Regions from separate parts of the Homo sapiens genome. Here all the other regions are linked to region 3. Evidence: promoter capture Hi-C in 16 types of primary human blood cells and fetal thymus (Javierre and others, 2016). All regions are on one chromosome and are shown on one strand. The core of a region is centred on a gene start or on the middle of the fragment in contact, and the rest is flanking DNA. Distances in the headings are between cores, read along the strand shown.

Region 1 (2,731 bases), core at 5-2,504, 280 kb after region 3:
AAACTTACTTTTTGTCTTTGCACCTTAATTTTTTTTTTTTTTTTTGAGACGGAGTCTCGCACTGTCGCCCAGGCTGGAGTGCAGTGGCGCGATCTCGGCTCACTGTAACCTCTGCCTCCCGGGTTCATGCCATTCTCCTGCCTTAGTAGTATCTTTCCCTGCTCCAGGACGAAAACTTGCGTGGGTCCTTCTTCAGTAACAGAGTGCTATGGTTACTTTAAATCACAGAGCAGAGTTTTGGGGCTGGCCACCTGGGGGCCAGCAGAGGCATGGGCACTAAACCCAGATGCTTGGACAGTAGAGTCACCCACCACTGCTTGAGCCAACTGGCCTGGGCAGGAAGCATGTCACACAAGATCTGCTTCTACAAGGCTGCAGTGACGGGCAGACTGGAGAGGACCAGGTTTCAATACAGCGTCAGAGAACCACAGGGAGAGACGGGGTCGGGGCTGAAGCACACGAGACCACATTTGGGACCTTGGCATGATCCGAGGAGGCAGGAGGACCCCTGAGGATGATGGATGTGGGCCTCCTAAGCAACACTGGGGAATGGGAGGTTTGTGGCATGGTTTGATTGAATCAAGGAAGATTAATGTGGAGATTTTTCCATCTGAATATCTCCACTGCATGTGATAAAAATACAAACATATCATCCTTCTTAAACACCTTTGTTTGGAAGGGTTATTTTATAAAAAATGTAAAGTAAAAGCTTCCCTTAATATATTTTGCTCTTTAAAAATGAAACATATTATCCTTAAAAAAAGAATGGAGCCAGGCATGGTAACTCTTGCTCAGGAGGCTGAGGGGAGAGGATTGCTTGAGTCCAGGGGTTCAAGACCAGCCTGGGCAACATAGCAAGGCCCTTGCTTCTAAAAAAATTAGACTTTCTTTTGTTATTTCATTGTAAAATTTAAAATGGTTTGGGAATTACATTTTGATCACTTGTTGCAGCAATTTGTTGAAGAGACCATTTTAAGTCCAAGTATGAATCAAATTATACCTCATTTTAAACTCATGCTAACTGCTTTCTTGTCAAGACATTAGAATTTTCTTTCTTCTTTTCTTTCTTTCTTTTTTTTTTTTTTTTTTGAGACAGGCTCTCACTTTGTTACCCAGGCTGCAGTACAGTGGCATGATCTTGGCTCTTTGCAGCCTCGACCTCCTAGGCTCAAGCGATCTCTTGCTTTAGCCCCCTACAAGTAGCTGGGACTATAGGTGTGCTCCACCACGCCCAGCTAATTTTTTTGTAGAGACAAGGTTTTGTCACGTTGCCCAGGTTTTGTCACGTTGTCTCGAACTCCTGGGCTCCAGTAATTCATCTGCCTCGGCCTCCCAAAGTGCTGGGATTACAGGTGTGAGGCACCGTGCCTGGCCTGGAATTTTCTAAAGTGGTTTGTGGTCAGACACTTGTAAGATCTGAGGACATGTTTCCCAGGAATGTGAAGGATCATCTTGACAGCATCCCATGGGGCCCAGAGTAAGCCCTACACTGCTCTGGGAAGCGTCATCCAATCCCTCAAATCCATGCAGTCCTGGCTTCTGCCAGGCACTGGCACATGCTGCCCTCCTGATACAGCATGACAGACAACCTGGGCTCTGTTAGTGGCTTTATTTTCACCTTTAAATTTAAAAAACAATTTCTTCAAGTAATAATTCAAAACAACCAGTGGTTTTCTATTTCTAAAAAAGTAATCCATGACATAAATGAAGATTCGAACTTATGAATGTCTAGGCACTGCCAGGTACTGTCTCAGAAATCTTTCACTATCGTCCATCTAACTCTTAGCTGTTCTCCAAATTCAAGCTTACAGAGGTCTTTGATTTCACCTAAGTTTTTTTTCTTAAAATCAAGTGTCTTCTGAGGTTTGTAGTGCACATCTCTAGTGCCAGTTCTGATTCACAGGTCTTGAAGTGGCTTAGTGGTTTTCATCGGTTATTTTCCAACGCACCAGTGACTTTTCTCCCCAGCTGGATTATAAATTCCTCAGGCTGGGATTGCAGCTTTCCAGACCCCTGGCACAGGCTATTTGGTGCAGTTGTGCTCAAGAAATGTGTGCATCTCCATGCATCTCAATACAGACACACCGCCATTTCTTATTCTATCTTCTGTCTTTATAAAATTCATCTCTGACCACTTTATAAAATTCGTCAAGAACCTGCCAGAGCTCCCCATTTCCTACTGAATTAAATACAGAGTCCTCTATGAGCTCTTTGAGATCACTGCCTTGCAGCCCAAACTTCCTTTCTTCTATTCCCAAATGAATATGAGACTGCATCAATGTGAATCTCCACCTGGGTTTGTAGCCAGGCGGGCATGCTCAGCATCTGTAGGCCTCAGTTCTCACACACCTGGCCATGCATCACCTTCGCCTGGGAATTGTGTCTATTTCACCACAATTAAAATAACCTGGGAAGCTTGAAAAAAATCTCTAGGCCTTATATCAACCTTAGCATATGAAAATCCGTGGGGTGTGAGGCCCAGGCATGCAAATTTTAAACCAACACACCCGATGATGCTTATATACTGCCCAGCACAGCTCATGGCCCCGAATTTGGAATCAGTCTTGAGCAAACTGTCAGTCTGCCACTGCATTTAGCAACATAGAAACACAAAAAGGACTTTTAATGATCTCTTACTCTCTGTAAGTTTCTATGGTTCAGTTAAGACACTTTCCAGAAGGTCCTGGAACTTATCTCCTGTATCCTCAGAAAGGGCCTCCTAACCTTTGGG
Region 2 (2,758 bases), core at 232-2,731, 390 kb after region 3:
TCCTCGGTGTGTGGGGTGTCCTCGGTGTGGGGGGTGTCCTCAGTGTGGGGGTTGTCCTCACGCATTCTCTGGGAAGGTTTTCAACTCAGGAACAAAACAGAATCTGTCTGGGCCATCCAGGTGAAACTAAAAGGAAATCTATCTGTTATTTCCTTTCCTCAAGTGAGTGCTCAGGATGTGATTTCCTTTGTTGATGGTATAGTTTGCTGGGATGAAATCCACATGGCGTCTTGCCAGTTTACCCCCACCCAACCCAGAGGCCTCTAAATAGAATTGGAGGCTTCCACTCCTGCTGCAAATGCATTTAGTGCCTCCCTGTCTTCCAGGTCAGGTGCTCTCTCCTTAGCCTGCATTGCAAAATACTTCCCAATGTGGCTCCTGGACCTCTCCTCCCCTCCACCCACTCCTGCCCTCGGCCCCCTCCACACTGGGGTTCCTGGCACCACCTGTGAAGCAGCTCCATGCCATTGCTCACACTGGGCTCTGATGAGAACGCCTACTTCTACCCCTGTCAGACTCATCTGCCCTATCCTTAGGGTCCTCTACGAGGATTTCATGATTCAGCTGGAGGCCCAGCTCTTCTGTAGTGTCTGCGTGACTCCTTCCCAGACGGGCAGAGCTCTTTCTTTTGCACCCTACTAGATACCTTCAGAAAAGGCCGAGTTGTCTTTTCAATGTACACCGACACTTGTTTCATTCTTTGACGCCACTGCAATGAAAGCTCTCTTTTGGGGTTCAAGGCAAAATTGTTAATGAATGAATACATGAATGAATGATTGAATGAATGAAAGCAGTGATAAGATCCCAGAAGGCAGAAAACCCTGTAGCATTTATACCCAAGACAGTCTGTTTTGATTGAGCATGGCAGCCACATTTCCATCAATTCCAGACAAAGCCAAACACAACCCAGGATGTGGATGAGAAAGATGATGGAATATATGTGACTAAGGTCCCCCTTTCCCTCCACACTGGCTTTTGGGCTGGGACCTCAAGGTTATGCAGGTGCTCTGTGTGACAAAGGACATCTTTTGGATGGCTGCCTCAGATACAGAACTTAGACCATTTGCCCAACACGGGCTCCAGTGATTCTGAAAAAGGACTTGCAGCACAGGAGACCAAGATGGAGAAACAAGGAGAGAAGGAGGTTGGAGTTGGGAATTCCCTGTGCCACCATTTTTCCGGGCTCAGAAGGATTGGCAGCTCTGAACATTTTCCTGTATTGTCCTTTTGCCCTTTTCAAAGATTGGTTTTAGATCTCACTGTCCTTGGCATCAAGGAAGCACTCAGGCTGGGCCAAAAGCAAAACTAGTATGAAGTCAACCCTGTGTGTGTCCTAATGGGATATGTCTTAACTGTCTTCTCATACTTCAAATAAGCTGTAAACACTCTCCCATGTACATAAAGCTTGCTGGGGGCTAATTGAGGATGAGAGGTCAGGTTTGAAGACTGAAGGGGGTAAGAGGAGTGGGGAGACCCCTCAGGAGGGCGACATTCCATGTCCACAATATCTCACTGTAGGTAAGAAATGGAGGCCCCTCCCTGCCTTGAGTCAGGGAAGCCAAGCTTGGGCTGGGGACCCTTGTTGCCCCTCTATTTGCCAAGGGCAGGAATCACAGAGTGGCATCCACACACTCATGTCTGGAGCATCTCATCCTGACACAGAGGCTGTGGCTGAAAACACATGTCCCTGAGATGCAGATTTTGTAGCTTGTGGGGCCTGAAACACAGCTGGTGGCTGGAATTAAAATTCCTGAGTGGTATTCCCATCCACAGGCAGGGCTTCCAAGGGCACTCGGAAGACGCCTGCAGTCCTGGTGAAGAAAACATTTATTTTATTCAGGGGTTATGGAAAGAGACTAATCTGTGTGCAGAAGAGCTGTTAGACTTTCCATTCCTTGCTCGCCCCGGGCCTTGCACTTCTGAGAAGTAAGCTAATGAGAGCTGGTGCCACTCGCTGGGGAGGAAGCTGCCTGCTGGAGTTAGGCTGATTCCAAATGCTGACACCTGTCAGTTCTCTGCCCCACAGCCTCACCTATGGGAGTGAACAGGTAGAAGTCTTGGATGGATCTCTGGGGTCCAGATCCCTGAGCAAAATGTGTAAAGATATGTCCCTGACCTACCAATCCTCTTCCAATATTATGACCATCACATATAACAGAACTTTCAGCCAACCATCCACATTCTTTGTGGGATGCATATTACCATAGTGACTCAGAAGGTAGGTGGGGAAGGGGAAAACCTGCTGATTCTCCCCTTCTCTGTGGAAGCCAGCTGAGTGGCATGCTGCATATAGAGATGTTTCTGTGACTGCCAGAAAAAAAGGTGAGACCGCTTTCCAGTGGCCAAGTATTGAGTACAGGTAGTACAAAAAATGCATTGGGACATACGATTATAGCCTGGAGCAACTCATGTTGACACATGAGTAGAATAATGCCCAGTCTGTATCCCCAGAGGCTTGTATTCAGTTGAGTACTGAAACCAGCTCACACAGAGTCAAGTGGCAGCACAAGAAGCAATGGCCCCCGACACGTCCACCAGGCAATGGGTGGAAGCTGCAGACACTGTGAGGTCTGAGGTCGGCCCCACATGCGCTGATCACACCAGGCTTCCCAGTGAGGTGGAGCTCAGGCCTGGCCTCCGGCATGGGGAGGTCTGGGAAGACTGCAAAGGACGTGCTGGGCAGGTTCCATGACCAGGAGTGGAGTCACCTGAGTGGGGCGAACTGAAGGACAAGGAGAGAGAGGCACTTCCTCATGGG
Region 3 (2,711 bases), core at 1-2,500:
CACAGAACATTCCACAGCGATCGGCTTCTGTGCAAAGCAGAATATGGTGTTGGGAGGAGTAGAATCACAGGATTTGAGGGCTGAGGCGGGAGACAAATTCAGGGGTACCTCCCATTTATAGAGTGTTTCGTAGTTTCTAGATCACAGCCACAGGAGGCAGCGCAGCTACTTTCCCGTTTTACTTTAGGATGTATGTGGCCTAGGAGAGGCTGGCCTTGGGTCTTAAAAGCTGTACTGCCTCCTGGTTCCTATTACTGTAACTAGGGATTTCTGTGATCCCTGGGGTGGTGGTCCAGGCCTTTGATGGACCCGTGGTGACCCATGTGACTCTGACCCACATGGCCTCCACCTCCCCATCCCCTAGTTTGGGTCATGGGCTTCACAGGCCACGTCGCTGAGGACACTGTAAGATTGCACTTAGGGCCAGGTGCGGTGGCTCACACCTGTAATCTCAGCACTTTGGGAGGCCGAGGTGGGCAGATCACCTGAGGTCAGGAGTTCGAGACCAGCCTGGCTAATATGGTGAAACCCTGTCTCTACTAAAAATACAAAAATTAGGCCGGTGTGGTGGCGGGCACCTGTGATCCCAGCTATTCAGGAGGCTGAGGCACAAGAATTGCTTGAACCCGGTGAACCTAGGAGGCGGAGGTTGCAGTGAGTCAAGATCACACCACTGCACTCCAGCCTGGGCGATAGAGTGAGACTCCATCTCAGAGAAAAAAAAAAAGCAAAACAAAACAAACAAATCCCAAACATTTCCACTCTGGATGCCAGCTTGAAGGCTCTTGGTCTTGTCCTTGACTTTTAGGCAGTCCTTAGCTCCCAGAGAGAGCAGCATTAAAAATCATCATCAGCAAAGTACTTCATTAGGCATAGCTTTTAATAATGCGGAATGCTCAATTTTTATTGAAATATGTTTGTCAAAACACAGATAGAAAATGCTAGAAATAGAGCACCCCAGAATGCCAGAGCTGGGAGGCATCTGAGAAGCTTCTAGTCTAATCTTCTCCTTTGACAGATGAAGCCTGAAGATTTGGGGGTTGGTTCTCACTGAGGCTGTGCCCTGGGTTGCCCCAGGTGCTGTGAGGAACAGGAATGGAGGCACATGGCACCCACACTGGTCTCTGAGATGCCATCACTCACAGCTTCTCCCCATCAGCCAGGGCCTTGGACACAGCCCGAGCCTGAGTTGAAACCTGGCCCTGGAACAGGAAGTGCTTGGAAGCTTCCCTGCCGTTGCCGTGGTGCTCACAACCACCCAGGAAACCAAGGCAAGCTCCCCCTGTCAAAGCACCTTGGCCCATAAGAAGAAAAGGGGGAGCCCCAGATGTGATGAGCGCTTCCAGGCTTCAGGCTCAGAAGGCGCCCCCAGCTCTCCTGTAACTCAGAGGCCAGTGTGATGGGAGTTCCTCCACTCAGCACACTTCCCCTGTAAACACGCCTGTGGTGGGCAAAAGGGCTTTGGAACGGTAAGTACAATGGGTATTTTTCAGCCACTTCAGAGACCAAGAAATGTGTCCTAGTGACAGGTGCTGTCTTAGCACCTGTCTAGACCCAGTGTTAGACTTGGGTGCCTCTGGTCTACTTGGCAGGGAGGGAGTTTAGGGAATCAGGAGGGGTCTGGGAGCTGAGAGACCATTGTAGGTAGCTCCTGCCCGCCCACAGGGACCTTGGCACAGGCTCTCAAAACACACGAAGGGGCAGATTGCCTGGTGGGATGAAAAAAGAACACATTTCCAGGCCATTGAGATGTCTCTGGATTTCAAGATCAGCTAAAAAAGTTCTTAGATATTGATCTAAGAAAGCAGGAGCTTTGGGTAGCTGAGTGCAAACCCCAGCCTCCCTCTCTCTGTAACTGAAGCGGTGCTCTGTGGGCATAGCGAGTCCCGTGTGGGGTTTATTCTGTGCTGACCAGGTCTGCTTTAGAATGGAACCCTCTTCTCTCTTCTCAGATTCCTTAAGGCCACGTTGAGGATTTGGGGGTCTATGTCTAGGGCAGTGGGAAGCTGGTGAAGGGCTTTAAGCTGAGGAGTTCATCATCCTGGCTCCTGTGAGGTAAAGGGATCAGAAAAGCATGTATGTGTTACCTGAGGTGGGAGAAGCCTCACGCAAGGTGGAAACTCAGCCATCAAGGAAAACACACATTGCTGTAAACTCAAGTGCACCTCTGAAAGCTGGTTGAACAGCCAAAGATGCTCTTAACACACATGCATACATGGATGCAATTGCAGATGAAGACACCAGCAGCTGGGTACAAACACCAGGGCCATGTTTGTACCCAGACACGTTTCTTTTTCTTTTTTCTTTCCCCTCGAGACAGAGTTTCGCTCTTGTTTCCCAGGCTGGAGTGCAATGGTGAGAGTTTGGCTCACTGCAACCTCCACCTCCAGAGTTCAAGTGACTGTCCTGCCTCAGCCTCCCAAGTAGCTGGGATTACAGGCATGCGCCACCACACCCAGCTAATTTTGTATTTTTAGTAGAGACAAGGTTTCATCATATTGGTTAGGCTGGTCTTGAACTCCTGACCTCAGGTGATCCACCTGCCTTGGCCTCCCAAAGTGCTGGGATTACAGGCATGAGCCACTGGGCCTGGCCCCAGATATGTTTTCAAATTAGAGACTGGCAAAGGAAATACACACACACACACACACACACACACACAGGACATATTTTCATACTAATGAAACAATTTGTTTACCATAAACAAAGTC

Evidence for each region. Contacts are between HindIII fragments. The CHiCAGO score rates a contact against its expected background, and 5 or more counts as called.
Region 1: a contact is called between a fragment that was not itself captured here and the fragment with the promoter of BTBD16 in region 3, in 3 of 17 cell types (M1 macrophages, endothelial precursors and total B cells). The highest score is 6.8, in M1 macrophages.
Region 2: a fragment that was not itself captured here is called in contact with the fragment with the promoter of BTBD16 in region 3 in 1 of 17 cell types (M1 macrophages); the score reaches 5.5 in M1 macrophages.

The regions. Positions count from the first base shown.
Region 1 is chr10:122,546,107-122,548,837 of GRCh38, forward strand. No RefSeq gene overlaps it. Among named protein-coding and RNA genes, the nearest start is that of DMBT1, 13 kb to the right of the region's middle. The HindIII fragment of the contact is 1,095 bases long and covers 708-1,802 here.
Region 2 is chr10:122,662,010-122,664,767 of GRCh38, forward strand. No RefSeq gene overlaps it. Among named protein-coding and RNA genes, the nearest start is that of SPADH, 9.5 kb to the right of the region's middle. RefSeq lists an enhancer at 2,686-2,758. The HindIII fragment of the contact is 159 bases long and covers 1,403-1,561 here.
Region 3 is chr10:122,270,046-122,272,756 of GRCh38, forward strand. It overlaps BTBD16 (BTB domain containing 16), which reads left to right and starts at 1,251. Exons shown (of 16, transcript NM_144587.5): 1 at 1,251-1,469. The HindIII fragment of the contact is 5,650 bases long and covers 1,224-2,711 here.